Linked DNA regions of Homo sapiens: all the other regions are linked to region 1. Evidence: promoter capture Hi-C in 16 types of primary human blood cells and fetal thymus (Javierre and others, 2016). All regions are on one chromosome and are shown on one strand. The core of a region is centred on a gene start or on the middle of the fragment in contact, and the rest is flanking DNA. Distances in the headings are between cores, read along the strand shown.

Evidence for each region. Contacts are between HindIII fragments. The CHiCAGO score rates a contact against its expected background, and 5 or more counts as called.
Region 2: a contact is called between a fragment that was not itself captured here and the fragment with the promoter of LPIN3 in region 1, in 8 of 17 cell types (activated CD4 T cells, non-activated CD4 T cells, naive CD4 T cells and 5 more). The highest score is 12.9, in activated CD4 T cells.
Region 3: a fragment that was not itself captured here is called in contact with the fragment with the promoter of LPIN3 in region 1 in 13 of 17 cell types (activated CD4 T cells, non-activated CD4 T cells, naive CD8 T cells and 10 more); the score reaches 16.7 in activated CD4 T cells.
Region 4: a fragment that was not itself captured here is called in contact with the fragment with the promoter of LPIN3 in region 1 in 15 of 17 cell types (activated CD4 T cells, total B cells, non-activated CD4 T cells and 12 more); the score reaches 9.4 in activated CD4 T cells.

Annotation. Positions count from the first base shown.
Region 1 is chr20:41,337,652-41,344,615 of GRCh38, forward strand. LPIN3 (lipin 3) reads left to right here and starts at 3,170. Exons shown (of 20, transcript NM_022896.3): 1 at 3,170-3,351. RefSeq lists an enhancer at 2,782-2,831 and a silencer at 2,992-3,151. The HindIII fragment of the contact is 12,951 bases long and covers 1-6,964 here.
Region 2 is chr20:41,088,791-41,095,754 of GRCh38, forward strand. TOP1 (DNA topoisomerase I) reads left to right here. Exons shown (of 21, transcript NM_003286.4): 9 at 3,682-3,797. Among named protein-coding and RNA genes, the nearest start is that of PLCG1, 45 kb to the right of the region's middle. The HindIII fragment of the contact is 4,648 bases long and covers 2,093-6,740 here.
Region 3 is chr20:41,107,140-41,114,103 of GRCh38, forward strand. It overlaps TOP1 (DNA topoisomerase I), which reads left to right. Exons shown (of 21, transcript NM_003286.4): 14 at 5,643-5,786; 15 at 6,831-6,964. All of the region lies in intron 4 of PLCG1-AS1 (PLCG1 antisense RNA 1), which reads right to left. Among named protein-coding and RNA genes, the nearest start is that of PLCG1, 27 kb to the right of the region's middle. RefSeq lists a silencer at 4,258-4,337. The HindIII fragment of the contact is 1,460 bases long and covers 2,234-3,693 here.
Region 4 is chr20:41,187,931-41,194,894 of GRCh38, forward strand. The region is part of intron 3 of ZHX3 (zinc fingers and homeoboxes 3); the gene reads right to left. Among named protein-coding and RNA genes, the nearest start is that of MIR6871, 22 kb to the left of the region's middle. The HindIII fragment of the contact is 1,846 bases long and covers 1,537-3,382 here.

The DNA of each region.
Region 1 (6,964 bases), core at 1,920-4,419:
GGCACCGTGGCTCACGCCTGTAATACCAGCACTTTGGGAGGCCCAGGCGGGTGGATCATGAGGTCAAGAGTTCAAGACCAGCCTGGCTAAGATGGCAAAACTCTATCTCTCCTAAAAATACAAAAATTAGCCAGGCATGGTGGCAGGCACCTGTAATCCCAGCTACTCATGAGGCTGAAGCAAATAATCGCTTGAACCTGGGAGGCGGAGGTTGCAATAAGCCGAGATTGTGCCACTACACTCCAGCCTGGGCAACAGAGCGAGACTCTGTCTCTAAAAAAAAAAAAAAAAAAAAAAAAAAGCCAGGTGTGATCATGCATGCCTGTGGTCCCAGCTCCTCGAGAGGCTGAAGTAGGAGAATTGCTTGAGCCCAGGAGGTCAAGGGTGCAGTGAGCTGTGATTGTGCCACTGCACTCCATCCTGGGTGACAGAGCCAGACCCTGTCTAAAACAAAACAAAAAAACAATAAAACACATAAGCTACCAAATTCTGTAAAGAAGGAAGTACCACCTGCATTCTTGGATTAATGAAGAAACAAACAGCTGCCAGTGATATAGGCTCATCCGATGAGTATACCCAAGCAGAGGAAAAAATGGCCTCCACCTTCAACCCCAGAAATGGGCAAACACAAGTGTCCATGCTGCTTGCACCCTCAGAGAAAGCCCTGGAGATGGTGATGTCAACCACAAGCTAGAGTGGGACAGTCTCTGCCTTATTCAGTTCCATTCAGTGTTAGAACAAGTCATACTAGCAGAGGCTGTTCTATCTGCCTTTCTTCTCCTACCCTCATCACCAAATCCCAGATGATTGAGAGTTCCAGAAACGAGCCTGTCAGAAATGCAATTTTTCTTTTTCTTTTTTTTTTTTTTTGAGACAATGTCTTGCTCTGTCACCCAGGGTGGAGTACAGAGGCGCCATCTCAGCTCACTGCAACCTCCACCTCCTCGGTTCAAGTGATTCTCCTGCCTCAGCCTCCTGAGTAGCTGAGACTACAGCTGTGCACCACCATGCCTGGCTAATTTTTTTTTTTTTTGTATTTTTAATAGAGACGGGGGACCGAGCGCAGTGGCTAACGCCTGTAATCCCAACACTTTGGGAGGCTGAGGTGGGTGGATCACGAGGTCAGGAGATCGAGACCATCCTGGCTAACACAGTGAAACCCTGTCTCTACTAAAAATACAAAAAATTAGCTGGGCATGGGGATGGGCCCCTGTAGTCCCAGCTACTCAGGAGGCTGAGGCAGGAGAATGGCGTGAACCCGGAAAGTGGAGCTTGCAGTGAGCAGAGATGGTGCCACTGCACTCCAGCCTGAGTGACAGAGCGAGACTTCATCTCAAAACAAAAACAAAAACAAAAAAACAGAGATGGGGTTTCACCGTGTTGGCCAGGCTGGTCTCCAACTCCTGACCTCAGACGATCCGCCCACCTCTGCCTCCCAAAGTGCTGGGATTGCAGGCGTAAGCCACCTCACCCCAGCCGCAAATGCAATTTCTGCAACAACCTTTATATCAACTTTTTTTCCTCTAACAATGAACAATGAAAACAATTTGTGCTCCATCTTTAAAAATGTGTGACACAAAAATTTTTTAAATAAAAATAAATATGTGATAAACATTCCTGAATGCCTAGTGTGTGCCCTGGCGCTGTGCTCTGCATTTAATTTGGATCAGCAGTTCTCAGCCTTGTTTGTACATTACAACCAACTGGAGAGGTTTTTAAACTCCCAGTATCCGGGGCATCAGTATTCGTCTAGGGCACAGTGATTCTAACACACAGTCAAGGTTGAGAACCACTTATTTAATTCATCCTGTAAATCCTCACAATAGAATCCTGCAAGGTAGCTTTTATCACCACCTTTGCCGATGAAATTGAGGCTCAAAGAGGTAAATTGATTTCGGCATCTGTAGCCCCAACCTGTGACCTCTCCTTCCTTCCTTCTCGGGCTCCCTTCAGGGATTTCCTGATGTTACAGAAAATGGTATGTATGACGCTGCCCTCCTGGCCACCTTGACATAGCTCTGCTCCCAACAGGGCTCTTCTGAGATAGCAGCCAGACACTACCTGGGATCAGGACTGATACTAAATGACTTCTGCCAAAATGAGGACAACTGAGGCCAGTCACTTCCAAACAGGTTCTGTCACCCTGAGTCAGAATAATGGCAGCTACCTCTCCTCCTCACCGCCCAGTCGTTTCTAAGCCTGGCTCGTCGCCGTTGCTGCTCCGCCAAGCCTTTCCTCGGTGCCCTCTCTCTTTTAGAACAAATTACTTCATCTCCAGGCCCTTCTCAGGGCAGCTTCTTTGCAGGGGCCATAGGGCGTCGGAAAGGTCTTTGGTCCAGGAAAGCCGCGAGCCACAGATCCAAGAGGAAAAAGCCGTTCCCGGCCCGGGCCTTGCCCAAGGCACGAGAGTAAATGCACCTTCCGCGTGCCTCGGCGCACCTGGGCTCACCTGTCCCCTCCCGCAGTGCCTGCAGACAGGGAGGGAGCGCGGCTGGGCCAGAAGGCTGATCACCGCCTGCCCCCTGCTGGCCAGTGTCAGTATTGAGCCCGCTGCCGCTCGACCAGAACGTCCCAGGGATGGAATGAAGGTGCGGGCATTTATGGAGCGCCTGCTGTTTGTCAGGCGAGGTACTGATAAGCGCTGGAGTGTAAGGATGTACGTGACCTGCTCTCAGAGTTCAAATTTAAATGAAGAGATATACATTAATCAAGTAGTCATTCAAGCAAATATGAAATTACAACTGTGGGCTATGCGAACAGATGACGCGAGGGGCCTGTCCAGTCTGGGAGATACGGGTGGGTTCAGGAAAAGCTGCCCCCAGGAGGGGACGTTTGAGCGCCAGGAGCCGCGCAAAGTCATTTCATGTCATCTCTAAAATCCTGCAAGGCGGCTTTCCCCCTTGACAAAACAGGAAATGGGATCAAATTGAGGAAGGAATTCACCCAAGATCACACAGCAAGCTGGAAGCAAATCTGGGAGGAGCTAGGTCCGCCCCGTTCCGAAATCCACACTTTTCTGGAGGTGGGGCAGGCGGTGGCACAGGGACTTGGGGCGGGGTCTGGTGGGCGGGGCATGAAGTCTGGCCCCGCCCCCGCCTCCGAGGCCAAAGGGCGCCCTGGGCGGGGATCGGAGCAGGGGCGGGGTCTTTCCAGGGAGTGGAGCCTGGGCAGATTGGGGCCTGTGGAGGCCGCACTAGGATCGTAGAAGGAGTGGAGCCGTGCTCTCACCCTGTCTTAGAGGACCCGGAAGCGCCAAGTGACTGAGGGCCGAAGACACTCACCTGTGGAGCCTGTGCACGTAGGTAGAGGCGGCGGCTCTGAGTCCAGGAGCTCCAGTGGGCAGCTCCCCAGGTAGGGCCCAACTCGGGGGGAGAAGAGATGACCCTCTCCCCTCCCGCCCTGCCCATCTGTCCTGCCATCCTACATTCCTTCCTTCCTGTCCGCGGGCCTGGGTCCACCCCTAGCTGTAAGATGGGGACGCAGGGGTGGAGGGACTGGCCTCATTTTGTCCCTTTTTCCCTGGCCCAGCGGCTGCAGGCCCCCTGGACACCCAGAACGTAGAGTCTGGAGAGGAGACGTCGAAACCTCCCAGGGGAGGCTGGCCCAGCTTTACCCCAGCCTGACTGTGTGACCTTGAGGAGGACAGCCACTTTCTCTGGTACCCAGTGTCCTCAGTTGCAAAACAGTGACTGGCCCTTGCCCTGCTTGCCCTGAGACTGGGCAGATCAGATGCTGTAGCTGCTGGGGGCTGGGGTGGCGCTTTCTCTCTACTGGGGCACTAGGAGTGCTTACTCTCCTGCTCCCTCTGGTCCTCGGTGGAGAGCCACACCCTTCATCCACCCAAACCTGGGAGCCCCGAGGGCTGAGAGCCTAGTCCTAGGGCAGCTTGCTCTGGCTTCCCTGTGCTAGAGTTGTAGTCTAGCCTGGAAGGCCTGTGAACATCCCCAAGGTGGGGTGTGAGGCCTACGTGGAGTGCACATGCTCGTTTTGCAAATAGTGGTGCCACCATTGTGCATGGCCTTGAGTGCCAAGTTAAGAAGTCCAAACTCCGCTGGGCGCGGTGGCTCACGCCTGTAATCCCAGCACTTTGGAGACTGAGGCGGGTGGATCATGAGGTCAGGAGATCGAGACCATCCTAACACGGTGAAACCCCGTCTCCACTAAAAATACAAAAAATTAGCCGGGTGTGGTGGCACACGCCTGTAGTCCCAGCTACTCGGGAGGCTGAGGCAGGAGAATTGCTTGAACCCAGCAGGCGGAGCTTGCAGTGAGCCAAAATCATGCCACCGCACTCCAGTCTGGGTGACAGGGCAAGACTCCATCTCAAAAAAATAAATAAATAAAAGAAGTCCAAACTCTCAACTGCTGGCAGGGGCAGTTCATCAGAGTATGACCTGCAGTGCCCACAGGACCAGCCTGCATGAGTGGGGCTGTCATGATGCTGCTGCTGATAGGTGTACATACAGGTTTTTATTGCATTCCAGGGCTTTACACAAAGTCATTAGTTACTCACACGTGCCTGATGTTATTCCCATTTTGGAGGCTGAGACTGAGGGTCAGAGAGATGAAGTCACTTGCCCATGGTCACAGCTAGCAAATGGCGGAGTGGGGATCAGCACCCAGATAATCTGGTGCCTTTTCTCCTAATGTCCTGTGGCCACCCGTGATCTGGGCATCTGGTTATAAAGTCTTAACCTAGGACAGCTGGAGAAAGGAGGGGCTGGATGAGCAGGAAATTGGGGGAGAAGATTCAGAGGGCTAGGGAGGGAGAGAGGGGTAGTGACTAGTCCTAAGGGGTATTCGGCTTCCTGGGAAGGTGTGAGGAGTGAAGTGGCTGATTTTAGACATGTTAGTTTGTGGGTGGAGGGTGATAGAGGGGAGCCAAGCAGAGCTCTCCTCTGTCTGGAAAAGAACAAGGAGGTAGAGCTGGGTCCTGGGAAAAGGGGGTGCCTAAGGGATAGGTGAAGACAGAGGCGGGCTCACAGAAGGCCCCCAAAATGCTGAGCAGGCAGATGTGGGGGGGCTCACTGGAAGCCCCCAAAATGCTGAGCAGGCAGATGTGGGGGGCTCACAGAAGGCCCCCAAAATGCCGAGCAGGCAGATGTGGGGGACATCCATTGGTGAAGTGGGGGGAACAGAGAGAGGAGAGAATTCTGGACTCCCGTGACATTAGATCTGAGGGAGATGGGTCTAAAAAACTGAGGCCTTGGTTCACAGAAGGGGAAACTGAGGCCAGCCAGTTACTTGCCTGAGAATACTCCAGGGCTGGATCCGAGTAGGACCCCGGGTGCCATCTCTGCTATTCGGCCCTTTCTACTAGATCGTGGTTCTCAGCTGGGGGCAATTTTGTCCCCCAGGAGACATTTAAAAATGTCTGAAGACAATTTGGCTGTCACAACCTGGAGCTGCGGGGGATGAAGTGCTACTGGCATCTAATGGGCAGAGACCAGGGATGCTGCTGAATATCCTACAGTGCACCCACCCACCCCCCAGCAAAGAATTATCTGGCCCCAAAGGACAGTAATGCTGAAGCTGAGAAACTGCACTAGGGCTTAATAGGGCAGAAAGCTCAGGCTTGGGCCTCCAGCTGGATGGACCTTTGCCCCAACCCCGGCTCTGCCCCTCCCCATGCTTGCTCCTTAATTCCTGGAAGCCTCTGGAGTCCTCTCTGCTTTTCCTGGGCACAGTGGTTTAGAGGTCTGCCCACCAAGTGTCTGTCACCACTCTGTCTCCCCAGACCTGTATTCAGAGTTTGGCATTAGGTAGGGAGAAACCAAAGTGGAAATGTCCCATCTAGCACATGGCAGGTGCCTTGCAGATAAACTTGATTTGAGTGACATCTTAGGGGTCCAGGGAGTTTCATTTCATCCCATTTTCACTTTGGCAATTTGAATTGTGTCTTATGTTTGTGACGCTCTGACATAGACTGAAAGAATCCACTGCTTCATCCGATGTCCTAGGATGGGCAGGATGTGGCATTATCTGAGAAATGCTGTGGAGGTGGGGGTCTTGTCGTTTAGGCTCTTCCAAGAGTAGACTGTGGACTGGGAACACAAAAGCAGTTCCTTTCAAACACATGAAAGGCTGCAGGAATCACCTCGGGATCCTGTTAAAATGCAGATGCTAGGCCAGGTGCAATGGCTCACGCCTGTAGTCCCGGCACTTTGGTAGGCCAAGGTGGGAGGATCACTTGAGTCCAGGAGTTTGAGACCAACGTGGGCAACATAGTGAGACCCTGTCTCTACAAAAGAAATTTAAAAGTTAGCCAGTTATGGTGGTACATGCCTGTAGTCCCAGCTACTCAGGAGGCTGAGGCAGGAGGATCACTAGAGCCTGGGAGGTTGAGGCCGCAGTGAGTCATTTTGGTGCCACTGCACACCAGCCTGGGTAACAGAGTGAGATCCTGTCTCAAAAAAAAAAAAGAAAAGAAAAGAAAAGAAAAATATGCAGATGCTGATTCAGTAGGGCTGAGTTGGGCCTAAGTTTCTGTTTCTAACAAGCTCCCAGGTGATGCTGATGCTGATGTTTGTTGCTGGTGCATACCACATTTTGAGTGCAGGGCATTGCAGGGCTGTGCAGAAGTGGCCATGGGCCATGCAACCAACTCTTGGGTGGTTTGGAAGCATGGAGTGGAAGGAGACCATGCTCTAGAGTCAGGAGAGCTGGATATGAGTCTTTACTCCCTCTCTCCCCTCCCTATACCCCTTCTATGGCCTGTCAGCTTAGAAGAGCTTGAATAGTTTCCTCACCTGTAAAGTCACTTAACCTTGGGTAAGTCACTTAGCTTCTTTGCTAAGTGGTCTTGCATGGCAGGCTGTCCTCCAGGGGTTCTGACCCAGGGTCTGAGAGAAGAAAGTGCTCTGTAGAGATAGGACAGTCTGGGTCTTGGCAGGCAGAGGGGCAGCAGGCCACTGGCCTGGCCAGGAGGGCAGGGGTGATCACCTGAAGCTGCTGGGGCAGGCAC
Region 2 (6,964 bases), core at 3,167-5,666, 250 kb before region 1:
ATCTTTAATATTCCTTTGAGGTCTAAGATTCTGTTAAATATTTTTGTTTAAATTGTGTAAAATACATATGACATAACATTTATCATCTTAACCATTTTTAAGTGTACAATTCGGTGGCATTAAGTACATTCATATTGTTGTGCACCATCACCATCTCCAGAACTCTACATCTTGCAAAACTGAAACTCTGTAGTTATTAACAATTCCCCACTTCTCTGTTGCCCCAGTTCTTTTTTTTTTTTTTTTTTTTTTGAGACAGAGTCTCGCTCTGTCGCCCAGGTTGGAGTGCAGTGGTGTGATCTCAGTTCACTGCAACCTTCGCCTCCTGGGTTCAAGCAATTCTCCTGCCTCAGCCTCCCAAGTAGCTGGGATTACAGGCTCCCACCACCATTCCCGGCTAATTTTTTATATTTTTGGTAGAGACGGGGTTTCGCCATGTTGGCCAGGCTGGTCTCAAACTCCAGACCTCAGATGATCTGCCCGCCTTGGCCTCCCAAAGTGCTGGGATTACAGGCGTGAGCCACCGTGCCCAGCCTATTCCCCCAGTTCTTGGTAAGCACCATTCTACTTTCTGTCTCTATGAATTTGACTACTTTAGGTACCTTGTATTAATAGTCATACAGTATTTGTCCTTTGTGACTGACTCATTTCACTTAACAGAATGTCAACGCTCGTCCATATTGTAGCATGTTTCAGAATTTTCTGACTTTTAAAGGCTAAATAATATTCCATTGTTTGTCCTGCATTTTGTTTATTCATTCATCTTTTGATGGACATGGGTTATTTCTGCCTTTGGCTGTTGCAGATAGTGCTGCTGTGAAACATTCGTGTACAAGTATTTGTTTGAATATTGAGTATATTCCTGGGAATGGAATTGCTGGGTCATGTGGCATTTCTGTGCTTAACTTTTTGAGGAACTGCCATACTATCTTTTCCACATTGGCTGCACCTTTTTACGTTCCTACCAGGACCACACGAGGGTGCTAGCTTCCCTACACCTTCACCAACACTTGTTATTTTTTGTTTTATTGCCATCCTTATGAGTATGAATGGTATCTCATTGTGGTTTTGATTGGTATTTTCCTAATGATTATTGATGTTGCATATTTTTGCAGGTGCTTATTGGCCACTTGTATATCTTCTTTAGAAAAATGACCATTCAAGTTCTTTGCCCCACCCCCACGTGTTTTTTTTTGTTTTTGAGATGGAGTCTTGCTCTGTCGCCCAGGCTGGAGTGCAGTGGCGCAATCTTGGCTCACTGCAACATCTGCCTCCCAGGTTCAAGTGATTCTCATGCCTCAGCCTCCTGAGTAGCTGAGATTACAGGCGTGCACCACCACGCCTGGCTAATTTTTTGAATTTTTAATAGATACAGAGTTTTGCCATGTTGGCCAGGCTGGTCTCGAACTCCTGACCTCAAGTGATCCCTCCGCCCGCTTTGGCCTCCCAAAGTATTGGGATTACAGGCGTGAGCCACTGCGCCCAGCCCCTATTTTTAATTTTATCTTTTTTTTCCCCTCCACCTTAAGACTGAGACTTTGCCCATTTTTTTAATTGGGTTGTTTATTGAGATGTAGGAGCTGTTTATATATTTTGTATGTTAACCCTTTATCAGATACATGATTTACAAATATTTTCTCCTATTCTGTGAGTTGTCTTTCACTCTCTTGAAGTGTCCTTTGATGCACAGAAGTTTTTAAGTTCAGTGAAGTTCAGTTTATTTATTTATTGAGACAGAGTGTCTCTCTGTTGCCCAGGCTGGAGTGCAGTCACGTGATCTCGGCTCACTGCAACCTTCACCTCCCAGGTTCAAACGATTCTTGTGTCTCAGTCTCCTGAGTAGCTGGGATTACAGGCGTATGCCCCCATGCCTGGATAATTTTTGTATTTTTAGTAGAGACGGGGGGGTCTCGCCATGTTGGCCAGGCTGGTCTCGAACTCTTGTCCTCAAGTGATCCGCCCACCCCAGCCTCCCAAAGTGCGGAGATTACAGGTGTGAGGTACTCTGCCCAGCTGCAATTCATTTATTCTTTTTGTTACCTGTGTTTTACGTGTCATATCCAATAAATCACTGTCAAATCCAATATTGTGAAGCTTTTCCCCTATGTTGTCTTCTAAGAGTTTTATATTTTTGCTCTTATATTTAGGTCTTTGATCCATTTTGAATTAATTTTTGTGTATAATGTAAAGACCCAGTTTGATTATTTTGCCAACACTATTGTTGAAAAAACTGTTCTTTCTCCATTGAATGGTCTTAAGCATCTTGTTGTAAATCATTTGACCATATATGTTGACTTTGGTTTTATAGTAATACCATTGTTACAATATGGTTTGATACATGTAATTTTTATTTGATGTTTCTGAACTTTGTTTAAAATATTGGACTTGTTCCATGGCTGAATGATTGATAATAAAATAATAAATAAAATATTGTACTTGGAAAGTAAATATGAGGGTAGTAAGTTAGTTATCTATTCGAGTAAAAGAAACTTGAGGCATAGCCAGTTGCAATTTGTGAGCCTGAGTTGGATCCTGGTCTATAAAATAAATTTAGATAAAATAGGGAAGTTTTTAATATGGACTGGGAATTAGAATTATACTAGGAGATTATTTTGTTAGATGTGATAATAGTTTTGTGGTTATGTGGAAGAATATTATTTTTATAGAGATACTTGCTGAAATATTTAGTGGTGAAGTATCAAATCTGCAACCAACTTTGAAAATGGTTCGGCCAAAATAGGAAATGTAGCAAATTATTAACCTTTTTTTTTTTTTTTTTTTTTTGAGATGGAGTCTCACTCTGTTGCCCAGGCTGGAGTGCAGTGGCACAATCTTGGCTCACTGCAACCTCTGCCTCCTGGGTTCAAGCAATTCTCGTGCCTCAGCCTCCTGAGCAGCTGGGACTACAGGTGCGCGCCACCATGCCCAGCTAATTTTTGTATTTTTAGTAGAGACGGAGTTTCACCACATTGCCCAGGCTCCTGACCTGGATCACGACCTCCTGACCTCGTGATCTGCCCGCCTCGGCCTCCCAAAGTGCTGGGATTACAGGCGTATATGGTGTTTATTGTATTACTCATTTTTTTCTTATGTTCGACCATTTTAAAAATACATTTTCAAAAAGTTGTTCCCACTGAGCTTTAGATTCACTTATCAGTGTTTGCTAGATAGTTCCAGGTAATGCGTAAGTACCTTAAACTCAACATGCCCCAGTTAAGCTATCATTTCCTAGTCGTCTTCCTTTATGTCCTTTCTCATAGGGTTGTTTTCTCCTCTACCTTCCATCTGACGTCACCACTCTGAGGAGGCCTTTTCCTTACAAACAATGTAAACAATCCCTCTGTCATGTATGCCATTGTGGTAAAACAACTGTTTACATTTTCAAGTCCCTCACTTGTTACTGAGCTCCTTCATTGTTGATCTCTTCTGTCCAGTATTCTTAAACTGAGCTGTTGAAATGTATTTTCCTTTATTCACCACAGTATTTCATCTTACTTGTGAGCGTTGGCTTTTTCAAAATGAGAGACACTGGTTCTTTTGATCCAGGCCTTGAATGTGAGGCCCAGAAGTCATTCCAGAGCACTAATCAGTTGAGCGGATAATTATTTGGCATTTAATCAGTGATGATCCCCATGTTAGACAAGGCGATCACTAAATGAGGCTGTGCTTTGTCTTTTAAAGGTGGGAAGAAGAGCGCTATCCTGAAGGCATCAAGTGGAAATTCCTAGAACATAAAGGTCCAGTATTTGCCCCACCATATGAGCCTCTTCCAGAGAATGTCAAGTTTTATTATGATGGTGAGTTGTTTCAAGGTTCTTGATTCTTGGCCAGGAAAAGAAATCTGCTTCTATTTAGGGATAGAAAACAAGGAAGGATCCTATGTAATAGATAATCCTTTTTATTTCATTTTGTTTTATTGCCATGCAATTTTGAGGAAGGGGCATCAGGTGTTAACTCTTAAAGGCTCATTTGCTGCTGAAAAAGTGCCATGGAAAAGGGGCTATTCATGTCTTCCCTACATAGTCCAAAAAAGGTTTGTCAACATGGCTAACAGTGTGTGGTCCACAAGCTGAAGGTTTTGATCTGAACTTCATTTCTAGGGAGCAACTCTTCGCAAGAGTTATTAGAAAAGCCTCACTTGAATGGTAGTATTTTATGTTAGCAATATAACAATGCAATCGGACAAGCTGCTCATCACTAGAAACAGTATTAGTATATGGTCGAGGATTAATAGTCTGCCATCCATCTCTAGATAGGGCTGGTAGGCATCTGTCACCTATTCTGTGTAGCATAACACTATGCCTTTGATATATGTGCAATCAAGTCTGATGAGCTGCTTTAAAGAAATGCCCTGCCTGGGTCTCTTAGAACCCTCAGAATTGTCCCTTATCTGTCGTTGGTATTTGTATCCTTGGGTTTGAAGGATTTGAGGGTAGCCTTTGACATGCCTCCTGTTGGCAGTGTAGCAGTATGTAGATGGTAATAACTGATTTTCTTCATTCCATGAGTTTTATCCAGAAATGGTTAGAGCATTGTTCCTCATACCCTTATGTGCTTATGACTCACCAAAGTGGATCTGAGCCCATTTAACAGTTGTGGGGTGGGCTTCTTTTCCCTTTCCCCACCGTCCCTCTTCTTCTTTCCCCTTTCCCAACCATCCTTCCCTCTTCTGTCCCCTTTCCTGACAGTCCCCCTTCTCCTTTCCCCAGCATTCCTCTTCCACCTCCACTTGTCTTACCACCGTCTTTTGGCCACTGTTATTTCACCACCCCATTTCTCCACCATTTTTCCCACCCTCAGCCCCCCACTGTTTTCTTCTCACCCATCCCACCGCCCGCACTGAAAAGAAAAAGTTCTGGGGTGGGATTGAGTACTTCTGAACCAAGTGGTCTGCTGACCAAACTTTGAGAAACACTGGGCAGGATAACTGCTGAAAAGCATCAGTGGTGAACACTCAGGCATTCTGGTGCATCTCTCTTCCCACCAGTAGTGGCCTTAGGTCCACCAATGCTTGTAGGCCTAGGTAGTAGTTTACACTAAAGGGCTGGGTCTGCAACTGAAGAAAGTGCCAAACTTGGCAAGCTGAAATTTGTTTTTTAAAATGCCATATTTATTAGCCAAGTGTGGTGGTGCACGCCTGTAGTCCCAGCTACTCGGGAGGCTAAGGTGGGAGGATTGCTTGAGTCCAGGAGGCAGAGATTGCAGTGAGCCTAGATCGTGCCACTCCCCTCCAGCCTGTGTGACAGAGTGAGACCCTGTCTCAAAAAATAAAATAATAAATAAATAAATAAAACATATTTATTGAATGTATTTGTGGTCAGACACCAAGACCCAGCAGTGGATAGTACTACTGACTTAGACCCTGATCTTGGGGAGTTTGCAGCCTAACAGGACTCCATAATCTCAGAGGCAAATGCTTATGTTATGTAAACATTTTGACCTGTTGACCAGAGAGCCTAAGACAGTTCTTTCAGCCCTCACGCTGGTCATTCCTGGAGACTCTTAACTATAACTCAAAGCCAAAACTCCTAATTAAGAGAAAGGGCCTAGAACCTTGAAGAGCACCATCTCAAAGCGTAGGTATTCCGTAGGCCTGGTCTGGACTTACCAAGAGCTTTAGGATGCTCAGCTGGTAAAGCCTCACTTTGAGGTTCAAAGTGATGGGAGGGAAAGCTAGATTCCCTAGTCCTGTGGTTTCTCTTCCTTTTCAAGATAGGAAGCAGAGGCCTGGTCTAGTTCACAGGTTGCCATAGTCCTTTCCTCCCATTCTTGCCCAGTCCTCCTTTACAGGATCCTGCTTTAGGGCTCCAGCATTTTCTCAGCTGGTCCTCTGCTGGGATTTCTTCTCTTTGATTGTGTGAACTCTTACTCTGCAGTAAGTCAAGAAGTCATATTTGACTTTACTTCAAACTGATACAGTAAGTGCTGCCTACTCTCTGGGGAGGAGAATTCTTAGACTCCTTTAGAACTTGCCAGGGAGGTGGGGCATGGGCTAGCTGAAGCAGTGAATTACTGCCTTCTCTGAGGACCTTCAGTTTACAGCTTTGATTCAGCAGTTTCCTTTTCCTGGAGCTCAGCCTTTTCCACAAAGTGTTAACATTGCCAGGAACCTTCCAGTCATCCTCCCACTACTCTGATGCAGGGAGCCATCATTTCATCTTTTGACAGCTCATCTAAAATAGGAGGAGTCACAGTTGCTTCTCCCTCTATTAGGACAGAATTCAGTAAAACAGCCCAAAATCTCATTTTTTTTAAATTTATTTTTATATTTATTTATTTGAGACAGAGTCACACTCTGTCACCCAGGCTGGAGTGCAGTGGCACAATCTTGGCTCACTGCAGCCTCCACCTCCAAGGTTCAAACGATTCTCATGCCTCAGCCTCCCAAGTAGCTGAAATTAACAGGCACGTGCCACCACACCTAAGTTTTGTATTTTTAATAGAGACAGGGTTTTACCATGTTGGTCAAGCTGGTCTGGAACTCCTGACCTGAAGTGATCCTTGCACCGCCTCCTAAAGTGCTGGGATTACAGATGTGAACCACCATGCTCAGCCACATTTTTTTTTAAATGGTGTTAACAGTTTACATTTTTTTCTTGCCATTTTATTTCATTTATTTTATTCCTAATGACTTAATGTTTTCCTTTATATTGGAAACATGTTACAGTTTTCTAAAGAAGTTCAGGGAATCTTTTAATACACAGCCTATCTTCCCCGAAGTGTCTTTCTTCCAAAGCAGAAGCTTGGGGGTTGATGGGGGCAGCTGCGCCACCTGTTGGCCTTTTAAGTTAATGGCGTCCAAAGTGGGTTCTTTCTATTATAACTGTTTCAATATTGTGCTACAGTTCTCTACACCCCTGCAAAGTCAGATTGCATATCATTATGAGATAAGATGTCTTCTGAGTTTTGAAATAAATGGATTTCTGGTTAAATTTTAGTTTTCTATAAAGAATGTGGGCAGCCT
Region 3 (6,964 bases), core at 1,714-4,213, 230 kb before region 1:
TCTTTTCTCCAGTCAAGGAAGTGTCTTATAGGGAAGATTCTGGTTTCACTATGCTGTATCCAGGGATATATATGTATTTATAGATAGACTTTTAATCTGAGGACTAATGTATTTTATCCTACAGTATTACCAATCATTATTTCTTCCATAACTTCTAGACCATTCCTTTTGTACTTCTTTTTTAGAGTCCTATTAGATGAGTGTTGACACTTTTCAATCTAGACATCTTTTTTAAACTATATTTTCATACTCTTTGTCTCTTTAGGTCTGATTTTTTAAGTTCAGGGGAATATTTCATTTTGGGTGAGTTGTAGCACTCACTTCCAATTCACTAATTCTAATTATATTTAATCTACAAGTTATTCCATCTATAATTTATTTCAATTACCACTTTTTGTTTTCAAAATTTCTAATTTTATATCTGATTTTGTTTCATTTTTGTTTTATAATTTCATGTTCTTTCTAGATTTTACATCTTTTTATGCATACTAAACATACTCACTTGAAAGTCTTTGTAAGATTGTTCTATAAAATGTTACCTGAAGTGAATTCATGTGCTAATTACTGTTGGCAGTTTTTCTGAGCCATTTTCCTTGTGTCTTTTGAAATTTCTGTTTGTAAGCCCTTTTAACTGGGAGGTGTTTTTTGCTTATGTACTGTTCTCTTTTCTTTCCCTTCTTCTCCTTCTCTGTTCATTACTTTTTGTCTTGGAGGGAGTCTCTTAGCCCAGCTCAGCCCAAGCTAATAAGGCCCCTGACTTCAAGTCCCCCCTTCTTGCATGGAGCAAGAAGTGATCCTCCTGTCTCAGCCTCCCAAAGTGCTGGGTAGGCGTGAGCCACCACATCCAGCCTAGAGCACTTACATTGCTACATATTTGGAGCAAACATAATTAAAGTATGACTTACTGTGACCCAGCAGTCAATAACAGATATGTTTTTGTAATAGAATGTTGAAGGGTGGTAACTGGTGGTTTTACTTCATGGAGGGCTTTAGGTCGGCTATATGGGAAGCTGCCATCATGATGCTTTTGTTCTACACATTTCTGCTCAGCCTCCAGAGATGTCTCCTATTCTAAGAGTCGTCTTTGTTTACTCTTGTGTCTATATTTTACTTACTTAATTCCCTCACATAATAGTGTATCATTGTATCCCATCTGTGCTCTATCAAGAAATGTAGCACAAGCATGATGTGAACTATGAATTTTCGACAATTTAAAAAATTAAAGGAATCATTCAGGGGTAAAAAGCACAAAGTTGTAGAACAGCTGAAGTGTGTTCTTTTTATGTATCCTGTCTTTGCCCCCTTTCTGGAAACTTGGATTGGCCTACTTGCAGTCACTGTCACAGTTACACTACTTCTAGCCTCAAAGGTCATTGAAAGGATTGGGATTTTTGAGAACCACAATAACACTTGCTCTAGGTACTGAAAAGGTTGTCCTGAACTCATTCATATCTTTTTATGTTCATCCCAGTTTGTTTTTGCTTTTCCCCCCAGGATTTTGATTACACAGACATCTTGCAAGCATATTTCCATTCTTTCTCTCCCACTCTGTGCCTGGTGCCCGTAGGATCTGAAATAGCATTGGAATGACAGCTAGCCTTCTGGAACCTGCAGTTTCAACCAAAGAAACTCTGATTCCAGATAACCCAGGAGTTTCTTATCCTGCATAATCTAGGAGTTTACAAAAAGGCTGCTTATGGGTACTCACTGCTAAGTACAATCCACTGCCAAGTTTGGAAGCATTACCTGCTCTCACAACCCAGGGAAAGTAGCCCTTAGTAAAATTCAGGTTTTTTCAAACCAGCCTTAACCTTACAAACAGAATTTATCATCATGATTTTTCTTTCAAATGCAGTACAGCAAACTTTAGGATCAATGTTGACATCGTATTGCGTTTAGTCCTGTTAAAATACTCTCAGTGCCAAATACACACTTCTGCCTTTTTTCTCTTTAGAGTCTAGAATTCTGTGGGGTTCCAAAAATGTATGTGCTTACAACCTTTTATATGTAACCACCTAGGGATTAAAGGGCTAAATGTGAAGGAAAGTATCTTTACAATATTCATCTTGGGAAGCTCTCATTTTGGTGAGTTCTATTAGAGAAAATAAGACACAAGCTCATTAAAAATATATATATATTCTGAGCCTGGCATCTTGGTATAAAATTCAAAACGTTTTAAATCTATTTATTAGTAAGACTAACATAGACCTAAGTGTGAAGACTAAAATATTAAAGCTTGTAGGTGATATCATGGTTGAATATGACCTTAGAGTAGATTCCTTAGGACAGAAAAACACCAACAAGAGAAACAATTGACTAAATGGACTTCATTAAAATTAAAAATTTATGTTCAACAAAAGACACTGCTAAAATAAATACAGAATTTACAGACTAAAAGAAAATATTTGCAACATGTTTATCTGAAAGGGCTTATATCCAGACTATACAAAGAATTCCTGTAGCTCCATAATAAAAAAACAGACATCCCATCCGCATAATAAAAAGAGCAAAAGACTTGAACATATACTATACAAAAGAAGATACAGGAATGGTCAATAAATAAGCAAATGAAAGAGTGCTCGACATCACTAATTATCAGTGGAGTGAAGATTTAACCACAGGGAGATACGAATTCCAGTTCTAGGTATTTTTACCTCAAGTGAAATAAAAACATTTATCCATGAAAAAACTTGTACAAGAATGTTCATAGCAGTGCTCTATTCATAAGAGTGCAAAACTGGAAACATCCCAGAATAGATAACACATTATGGTATAGTCATAGAATATACTATATTTATCAGCAGTTAAGAAGGGAACTACTTATGTATTCAACAACATGGATGAATCTTAAAAACATGGTTAAGGGCCAGGTGCGGTTGGTGCATGCCTGTAATCCAAGCACTCTGGGAGGCCAAGGCGGGTGGATCACTTCAGGTCAGGAGTTCGAGACCAGCCTGGCCAACATGGCGAAACACCGTCTCTACAAAAAAATACAAAAATTAGCCGAGGGTGGCGCACACCTGTAATCTCAGCTATTCAGGAGGCTGAGACATGGGAATCGCTTGAACCTGAGGGGTAGAGGTTGCACTGAGCCGAGATTGCATCACTGTACTCCAGCCTGGTGACAGAGCGAGACGCTGTCTCAGAGGGAAAAAAAAAAGTTAAAAAGGCAGACAGAGGAGTCTATATTGTATGATTCTATTTATATAATCTAGACTAGGCAAAATTTATCCATGATGATAGTAATCAGATTGAAGGATCAGTGGTTGCTTGGTGGAAATTGACTGAGAAGGGAAATAGTCATGTAAGAATACTGGCAAATGTCCTCTTCCCCATTACAAACGTCTGAGAAAGTTACTAGAAAACAGAATCCAATTTGCCTTCTCACCCCCAACTTTGTAATCTTGAATCCAGATCCTGATTCCACCCAACCACTCTGCTGAATGGATAGCAGCTATATTAGAGAGACAATATAGTGGGCCTACTAGTTTTAAAAAGTCATCCAAAGAATGTCATCTACAATCAGTTAAATTAGATTTTTACCCATTACTGAAGTGTGATTGAATTAGGGAAAGAGGAGAGGTGGTCAAAGGCAGCCTTCTCCAGTGGATTCCTTGTCTTCTTGAGATGGTTTTGTGAGACCTTGCCTGGAAGACCTAGGTGGATAGTTTATTTTCTAAAAGTAGTCAAGAAAGCTTGTTCAGGGCATTGAACACTGCAGGGACAAGCATACTTCTTGGAGGCCAGCCATCTCCTGCTGGATCTAAGCGGGGTGGCTTCTGCCTCCACCTCCATCTCAGCTTATTTGAGAGAATCCTAGATCCTTGGTGCAGAAGCCCAGCCAGCCTGTGAAGAAAAGTTGGTCTGGTAGTATCCTGTGAATGACGTGCGGGTTGGGTTTTTCTAAATCTCGTTTACCTGACTCCTACCTTACATTCCAGTGGTGTGACTAAGGAACTGAGCAAACGTAACCCTAGGGGACTTTGAGACAGGCTTTGGTAGTCCATGTGCACTAGAGTGAGGGGAAAGAGGCCACTCCAGAGTTGGGTACTCTACTGTTGAAGGTGAGCCTTTTGTGTCCAATTTTTCCGTGCATGTGTAAGAACAGTTGTCATGGAGATTTACTACTGACTTGTGCATGAGGACAGCTTATATCTCACCTTTTCTTATTCACCCTGTTAAATGTCAAAATGTACTAAGACTTAGGTATTTTTTCTGTGTCACCAACTACTAAATCACCCACCCATGATAGCAGGTAGTTACTGAAACTCTTGTAGCCAAACAAGTGCATAACACTGGTACACATGATGTGAGAGTGCAGATGACTCCTTAGCTTAACTGTGTAAGCTTTTAATTTCTGAGTACTTTTAGGATTGAGAAGTGGAAGACATTCTTGCTCTAGGTATCTCATGCTTCTGCACACCCAGAAGGCTGGTTGCGCCCCCACCCCACCCCCCGCCCCCTTTTTTTTTTTTTTGATAGGGTCATGCTCTGTTGCCCAGGCTGAAAGGCTGGTTATCTTCACCACAGGTCTTATGTCTCAAGGACCACGGGTCCACGTCATAGTCAGGAACCAGGCATGTGTGGGCAGAAATCACTACCACTTTCCTTTGTTGCGGGTGGGGAAATTAAGAGCAGAGATTCTTGGATTCTTAAATTCCTTCTCTATGTTTATGTCATCTAGTCTGTTTTATGCTGTTTTATGTAATTCCCTGCTTCTGGATTTCTTGAATTTTTTTCCCCTTCTCACTTGTCATAATTGGCTCTTGCTTGTGAGTCTATTTTCATTCAGCTTGGTAGCAGAAGTCTTCTTCACTATTGTTTAGATTCAGTTTTCACATGGTTTTAGTAACCCTTCATTGGGTTTAGAATCAACTTTTAACCCTTCCACCAAAAGCTCTTATTTTTTTAAAGGCTTCCCAGAAACATAGTTTCTCTCAATCTCATCAAGAAATGCTTTTAAATGCAGAAGTTAGAAAATGGTGAATAATTATGGCTGTTCCTGGAAGTCATTGTGTCCTTAGTAATTACATGTTGTAGTCTTTGGTTCTGCTTCTTTGACAGCTCCACCACACTGTAATTTAATGGAATTCACTTAGATTTAATGGAATTCAGTCCTGGTAGAAAACTGCTATTGGGTCACAGAGTTGGCAGCAAGGCTGTGAAATTGATGTGGGAATGGGGGTGATTATGTGCTTTGTGTTGACAGAAGTTAGTTTTTGGGACATCCCATGTGGGTTTTTCCCAGGAACATAAACATTTTAGAGAATTAGAGCTAGAAACTTTCTTCTGGGAAAGCCTTAGAAGTCAGTTGTGCTTGGCAGTGAGATGGGACAATGTGCATTCTTAACAGGTTAAATGTGCCAAACTCTCTCTTCAGTACTATTCTTTTTTACGTTTGCTTAAGGTCAAGTTCCTGCTCTTTTGTTCAAAGTCTTGCTTTGTCACCCATGGTGGAGTGCAGTGGCGTGATCTTGGCTCACTGCAACCTCTGCCTCCTGCGTTCAAGCAATTCTTGTGTCTTAGCCTCCCTATTAGCTAGCTGGGATTATAGGCTTGCGCCACCTTGCCTGGCTATATTCAAAGTCTGTCTTTACTACACTGTCCCAAAGTAATCTACATTTGGGTTTGGGTCTTTACAGGGTGAGAAGGACTGGCAGAAATACGAGACTGCTCGGCGGCTGAAAAAATGTGTGGACAAGATCCGGAACCAGTATCGAGAAGACTGGAAGTCCAAAGAGATGAAAGTCCGGCAGAGAGCTGTAGCCCTGTACTTCATCGACAAGGTGAGAGCATCTTCCCATCGGCATTGTCTAGTGTTGAGCTTAACAAAGGGAGTTTCTGCTCTGCCCCAGGCCCTGTGCCACATACTGTATATCACAACTCAACATACATATATTTGTATGTAAAACTGAATCAAAAGTTGCACAAAACAATGCTTAGCCTTACTGTGAGCAGTAGATTCTGATCTTTTTTTAACTCTATTTCATTCCTTTAGAAAGTTGGTTATAACTTATAAAATTGTTTAAATAAACCATGCAGGTATCACCATTATATAGTTTTAAAGACCACGCTCTAGAGGAGATCAATTTCTTGGTACTCACGAGAAGAAAAAAAAGTTCATGTTTTTCCCCCAGTCTTGTATTTTAACATAAGTTCTGAATTGTCTCAAAATTCACACTAGCTTTTTGAGTTTGATTGCCCAGAGTAGCAGCACTCCCTCATTTGCTGCCTTATTTAATTTTTTTTTTCCTTTTCTCCATCCCTATTTCAGAGGACAGAATAGAAAGAAAAGGAGCATGAATATTTAACATCCCTATAGATTTCATAGTGAGTGGGGGAGGAAGTAACACTGCAGAATCCAGAGTTCCCAGGCCATGCTGACTGATGCTGTGGCTTCAAACAGAATTGGGAGGCTTCTGTTTTGGATGCCTAGAAATTGCATAAGGGTCAAAAGGCTGGGCGCAGTGGCTCACGCCTGTAATCCCAGCACTTTGGGAGGCCAAGGCAGGTGGAACACGAGGTCAAGAGACCATCCTGGCCAATGTGGTGAAACCCCATCTCTACTAAAAATACAAAAAAAAAAAAAAAAATAAAAATTGGCGTGGTGGCGGGCGCCTGTAGTCCCAGCTACTTCGGAGGCTGAGGCAGGAGAATGGCATGAACCCGGGAGACGGAGCTTGCAGTGAGCCAAAATTGCGCCATTGCACTCTAGCCTGGCGACAGAGCGAGACTGTCTCAAAAAAAAAAAAAAAAAAAACACAGAACGAAATTGTGTAAGGATCATGTCTCTTCCATTCATGCTCATCTTTTCTTTCTTTCCTGGGCAGCTTGCTCTGAGAGCAGGCAATGAAAAGGAGGAAGGAGAAACAGCGGACACTGTGGGCTGCTGCTCACTTCGTGTGGAGCACATCAATCTACACCCAGAGTTGGATGGTCAGGAATATGTGGTAGAGTTTGACTT
Region 4 (6,964 bases), core at 1,210-3,709, 150 kb before region 1:
CTCTATTCTAGCTACTTTGAAATATACAATATGTTGTTGCTAACCATAGTCACACTAGTCTGCTATTTAACATTAGACTTTGTTTCTTCTATCTACTATAAGTCTATACCCATTTACCAACCTCTTTTCATTTCCCCCTTCTACTCTCACACCCTTCCCAACCTGTGCTATCTATCATTCTATTCTCTATCTCCATGAAATCAAGATTTTTAGCTGCCACATATGAGTAAGAACGTGTATTTGTCTTTCTGTGCCTGGGATATTCCAATGAACATAATGACCTCCAGTTCTATTATTTTTTGTCTTTTTAATAATAGCCATTCTAACTGGGATAAAATGACATCTCATTGTGGTTTTGATTTGTATTTCCCTTTTGATTTGTGATGTTGAGTGTTCTTTAATATACCTATTGGCCATGTGTATGTCTTCTTTTGTGAATTGTCTATTCATGTCTTTTGTCCCCCCACCCACCCCCACCTTTTTTTTTTTTTTTTGGACACAGGATCTCGCTCTGTAACCCAGGCTCTGGAATGCAGTGGCACAACCACGGCTCACTGCAGTCTCAACCTCCTGGGCTCAACTGATCCCCCCACTTCAGCCTCCTGAGTAGCTGGGACTACAGGTATGTGCCACTACACCCGACTAATTTTTGTAGAGATGGGGTTTCACCATGTTGCCCAGGCTGGTCTCAAACTCCTGGGCTCAAGTGATCCACCTACCTCGGCCTCCCAAAGTGTTGGGATTATAGGTGTTAGCCTCTGTGCCCCACCTTTTGCCCACTTTTTAATATGATTTTTTGTTGAATTCCTTATATATTCTAGATATTAGTCCTTTGTTGGATGAATAGTTTTGCAAATATTTTCTCCCACTCAACATATTGTCTCTGTGCTGATTATTTCCTTTGCTATGCAGAAGATTTTTAATATAGTTCCCTTTGTCTATTTTTGTTTTAGTTGTGTTTTTGAGGTCTTAGCCATAAAATCGTTGCTCAGACCAATGTCCTGAAGTGTTCTGCACTGTTTTCTTCTAGTAGTTTCATAATTCAAGGTCTTATATTTAAATCTTTAATCTGTCTTAACTTTTGTATATGGTGAGAGATACAGGTCCAGTTTTATTCTTTTGCTTATGGATATCTAATTTTCCCAGCATCATTTATTGAAGAGGGTGTCCTTTCCTCATTGCATGTTCTTGGCACCTTTGTTGAAAATCAGCTGGCTGTAAATATGTGGCTTTATTTCTGGGTTCTATTTTCTTTTCCTTTGGTCTGTGGGTCTATTTTTATACCAATACCATGTTGTTTTGGTTACTATAGCCTTGTGATATATTTTGAAGTCAGGTAATGTGATGCCTACAGCTTTGTTCTTTTTGCTTAGGATTGCTTTGACTATTTTAGCTCTTTCGTGGTTCTGTACAAATTTTAGGGTTTTTTTCTACTCCTGTGAAAAAATCACATTGGTATTTTGATAGCAATTGCATTGAATCTGTAGATTGCTTTGGACAGTGTGGCCATTTTAATATTAATTTTTCCAATCCATAAGCTTGGGATGTCTTTCCATTTGTGTCCTCTTCAGTTTCTTTCATCAGTGTTTTACAGTTTTCCTTGCAGAGATCTTTCACTTCCTTGATTAAATTTATTCGTAAGTATCTTTTTTTATTTTTGGTAGCTATTGTAAATCAGATTACCTTCTTGATTTCTTTTTCAGCTATTTTATTATTGGTGTATAGAAACTCTGATTTTTGTACGTTAACTTTATATCCTGCCACTGTGCTGAATTTGCTTACCAGCTTTAAGAGTTTTGGTGGAGCATTTTTGGTTTTTCTAAGTATCAGATCATGTCATCTGCAAAAAGGGACAATTTTTCTCTTTTCCAATTTGGATGCCTTTTCTTTCTCTTGCCTGATTTCTCTGGCTAGAACTTCCAGTACTATGCTGAATAGGAGCGGTGAAAGTGGGCATCCTTGTCATGTTCCAGTTTTCAGAAGAAGGATTTTCAGCTTTTCCCCATTCAGTATGATGCTAGCTGTGGGTTTATTTATGGCCTTTACTATCTTCTTTCTATGCAGTTTTCTGAGTGTTTTTTTTTTATCATGAAGCAATGTTGAATTTTATCAAATGCTTTTTCTGTTTATTGAGATGACCACACGATTTTTGCTCTTCATTCTGTTGATGTGATGTATTGCATTAACTGAATGGTGTATGTTAAACCATCCTTGCATTATAATTTTTTGAGACAGAGTTTCGCTCTTGTAGCCCAGGCGGAAGCACAGGGGTGCAATCTTGTAGCCCAGGTGGAAGCACAGGGGTGCAATCTCGGCTCACTGCAACCTCTGCTTCCTGGGTTCAAGCAATTCTCCTGCCTCAGCCTCCTGAGTAGCTAGGATTACAGGCATGTGCCACCATGCCTGGCTAATTTTGTATTTTTAGAGATAGGGTTTCACCATGTTGGCCAGGCTGGTCTCAAGCTCCTGACCTCAGGTGATCTGCCCACCTTGACCTCCCAAAGTGCTGGAATTACAGGCATGAGCCACCATGCCCAGCCAAGGATTATTGATATGTGAGGTTTTGTTATTGTTATACTGTTGTTTTCTAGTTGTTTTATATATTTTTTTCCTTTTTCTTTTGTTTGGCATTGTACTCTGGTAGTTTTCTGTAGTGGTAGCATTTGAGTCTTTTCCTCATCTGTGTGTTTGCTTTGCCAGTGAGTTTTATACTTTTGTGTGTTTTACATAGTGTTAAATGTCATGTTTTCACTTCCATGTTTAGGACTCTTGTGAGCATTTCTTGTAGGGCCAGTCTAGTGGTGATCAATTCTCTCAGCTTTTGCCTGTCTTGGAAATACTTTATTTCTCCTTCATTTATGAAGGATAATTTTGCTAGACATAGTATCCTTGGCTTACTTTTTTTCCCCTTCAGCCCTGTCAACATATTATCTCATTTTCTCCTGATCTGTAAGGTTTCTGCTGAAATCCACTGTTAGTCTGATGGGGCTTCCTTTATAGTTGCTTACACACATTTCTCTTGCTGTCCTTAGAATTATCTGACTTTAGAGAGTCTGACTATAATGTGCCATAGAGAATACCTTTTTGCACTGTATCCATTTAGAGGCTATCAGGGCCTCCTATATCTAGATGTCTAAATCTCTTGTGAGATTTGGGAAGTTTTCACCTATTAATATTATTTCATTAAATAGGTTTTCTCACTCTTTCATTTTCTCTTAACCCTCTGGGATCCCAATAATTTAGATATGTAGTTGCTTTATTGTGTCCCATATGTCACAAAGGCTTTGCTCATTTTTTATTCTTTTTTATTTCTGAGTTATGTCAAAAGACCTGTGTTCTAGCTCTAAGACTTTTTTTTCTGCTTGATCTAATATATTGTTGAAGCTTTCAATTGTATTCTGTACTTTGTTTCATGAAGTCTTCTATTCCAGCATTTGCTTTTTTATGACATATATCTCTTTGATAAAATTATCATTCATTTCCCAAATTGTTTTTCTTTTTCACATTCTCTTACATCTCATTGAGCTTCCTTACACTCAATAATTTGAATTCTTTTTCTGGGATTTTGTGAGTTTATTTTTTATTGGAATCTATTGCAGGAAATTTATTGTGTTCCTTCTGAGGTGTCATATTTCCTTGCTTTTTCATGTTTGTGTCCTTATGTTGATATCTGCACATCTGGTGTAACAGTTGTTTCTTCTAATTTTTTGCATTTGCATTTGTAAGGGAGGACTTTTTCCTAGACGTATCTATGGTGTTGTTTGGGTAGGACACTTTGGCTTTGATTCTTGGTATGTGCAGTAGTGTAGTCTCTGTATGATTTCTTTGGCTATAAATAGCATCAGTGGTATCTGTGATTTCCTCAGTGGCTGAGTAGTTACTAGTGGAAGCTATGGTAAAATTTTGCTAAGGACTGGAATGCCAGGTGGGCCATTCTCCAGGCACCAGTGGTAGCAGCAGTGGACAGAGCATGCCTGTCTTTGGACCTCAGAGGAGCATACAATGGCACCAGTGTTAGTGGGTTCAAGCAGGCTGATTCTTGGGCTTTCGGGTGGCTTACTCAGATGTCAGTAGTGGCAGCAGTTCCCAGGCATGTGATCAGGTTCTCAGGCCCCTGGGCAGCTGGCGTGGCATGGGAGATGGCAGTGACAGTGTTGAAATGACCCTCTGGGTCCCAAGTGATATGTGCTTGTGTTGGCAGTGGCTGCAACAGGCTGGGCGGCCCATTCTGCAGGCCCACAAGTGGTACATACAGGTAGTAGTGGCCAAGTGGGTAAGCCCCAACCTCAGGTACCCAAGAGGAGTATTCAAGTGCCAATGGTGGTGGACTAGGCTGGACAATCCCCCAGCCCCTAGACTGTGTGCTCTGGCCACGGAGGTGGTGGTGTAAAGCCAGGCTGGGCAGTCTCATCTTCAGGCTCCCTATGATGTGTGCAGGTGCCAACCAAGGTGGGCAGGTGCAGGGCAATCCCTAGGCCACCTTCAGAATGCTTGGATAGGGAGTGGCAGTGCTGTACTACTACCTTCCATTGGAGAGCACAGGGTTGCTGGCCAGTGGGGAATGCATGTGCCACTCACACCTCACTCAGCTCCAGTGGCACTTGTGCCTCAGCCCCTGCTATGGTAGCTGGCACCATAGTTGTACCTCAGCCACAACAACAGGAGCACATGCCTTGTAGTGCTTCAGCCCCAGCTGCAGTAACCCAGTCACTTATGCCTCAGCTCTGGGGAAAACAGTCTGCAGTTCTCTTACACCTCAGCCCTGGCACTCAGGGACTCCAGGACAGTGTACAGTCTTTTGGGGGGTGGGCTTTAAATGGCATCTTGCTGTAGCTGTTTTGTTCTCAGGAAGTGTGGGGGACCCAGTGCGAGCTCCGTTCTGGAGCAGTTCCATTGAACAATCTCCTGGCACCTCCTATGTTAAGTTTCAGGGACTGCAAGGGCTGAGGAGCTCTCCCGTGGCTAGAACTGCAGAATCCTTTCATGGTGGAAATGTGGACCACTGAGGGTCTCTCACTTACCTTTTCCCCATGCTGGGGGGTCTCTCTCAGTTCCCAGCCAATCCCAGCTGAACAGGCTGCCTTGCTTCTTTTTCCTTCCTTACTTTGTTTCCTGTCTCTTTTCCGTGAATTCCAGTGTTCTGTCTTGGATAATCTATTCAAAGTGTGATTATCTACTCTCTATTTTTGTTCTTAATGGAAGAGGCGAGTACAAAATGCCTCTAGTCAGCCATTTTGGTTGGGTCTTCCTGGATTTTCTTATTTCTGTAAAAATGCGACTATGCTTTTGATAGATTTTACATTGACTCTGTAGTTTGCTTTGGGTCACGTCTACATCTTAATATCAATCCATGAACATGGGATATCTTTCTATTTATTTAGGTTATCTTTAATGTTTTTCAGCAACATTTTGTTGTTTTCAAGATACACTTCTTTGGCCTCCTTGGTTAAATGTATTCCTAAGCACTTTTTCTTTTTGATGCCCTTGTAAATGATACCATTTTTAAAATTTTCTTTTCAGATTGTTCATTGCAAGTGTATAAAAATACGACCAATTTTTTTAGACAGATAGGGTCTCACTATGTTGCCCAGGCTGGCCTCCTTGAATTCCTGCCTCAGCCTCCCAAGTAGTGGGACTACAGTTATGTCACTGTGCCCAGCTAAATACAAATGATTTTTTTTGTTTTTATATCCTGCAGCTTTGCCAAGTTCATTTATTAGCTCTTAACTATTTTTGTGTGTGTGTGGATTCAAGTTTTTTTTTTGTTGTTGTTGTTGTTTTTGTTTTTTTTTTTTGAGAAGGAGTCTCGCTCTGTCACCAGGCTGGAGTGCAGTGGCATGATCTCGGCTCACTGCAAGCTCTGCCTGCCAGGCTCAAGTGATTCTCCTGCCTCAGCCCTAACCCTGAGACTAAAGGCACATGCCACCATGCCCAGCTAATTTTGTATTTTTAGTAGAGACGGGGTTTCATCATGTTGGCCAGGGTGGTCTCGATCTCTTGACCTTGTGATCCACCTGCCTTGGCCTCTCAAAGTGCTGGGATTACAGGCGTGAGCTACCACAACTGGCCTCAAGTTTCTACATATATGATCATGTCATCTGTGAACAAAGATAATTTTACTTCTTCCTTTCGAACTTGGATCCTTTTATTTATTTTTTTTGCCTAACTGCTCTGGCTAGAACTTCCAATGCTGTTTTGAATAGATGTGGCAAAACTGGGCATCTTTATTTTATTCCTGATCTCAGGGGAAAAGTTTTCGGTCTTTCCCCATTGTTGAGTATGATGTTAATTGTGGGCTTTTCATATATGGTCTTCATCATATTGTCATATTCCTAGTTACTGAGTGTTTATTGTCATGAAAGCAAGTTGACTTGTTAGATGCTCTTTCTGCTTGAATTAGGATGATGTGTTTTATTCTCTTTATTCTTGTAATGTGGTGAATTACATTGATATTCATGTGCCAGGCAATCCTTGCATTGCAGGGATAGATCCCTCTTGCTCATGAGGTATAATCCTTTTAGTATGCTGCTGAATTTGGCTTGCTATTTTGTTGGGGATTTTTGTATCTATATTCATAAGAGATATTAGTCTGTAGATTTCTTTTCTTGTAGTGCCCTTGTCTTGCTCTGGTGTCAGGGTAATGGTGACCTCATGAGTTAAGAAGTGTTTACTCCTCTTCAATTTTTTTGGAGGAGTTTGAGGAGAACTGGTGTGTTAATTCTTCTTTCAATATTTGGAAGAATTCACCAGGGGTCCTAGACTTGTCACTGTTGGAATGTTTCTGATAACAATCTTCTTACCAGTTATTGATATATTTTGGTTTTTTATTTATTTGTCAGTTGATTTTGGGAGAGTGCGGGTTTCTAGGAATTTCATCTAGGTTACCCAATTTATTGGCACATAACTGTTAATAGTAGTCTCTTATAATATCATATTCATGTGAAAATATCTTATATTCATGTGA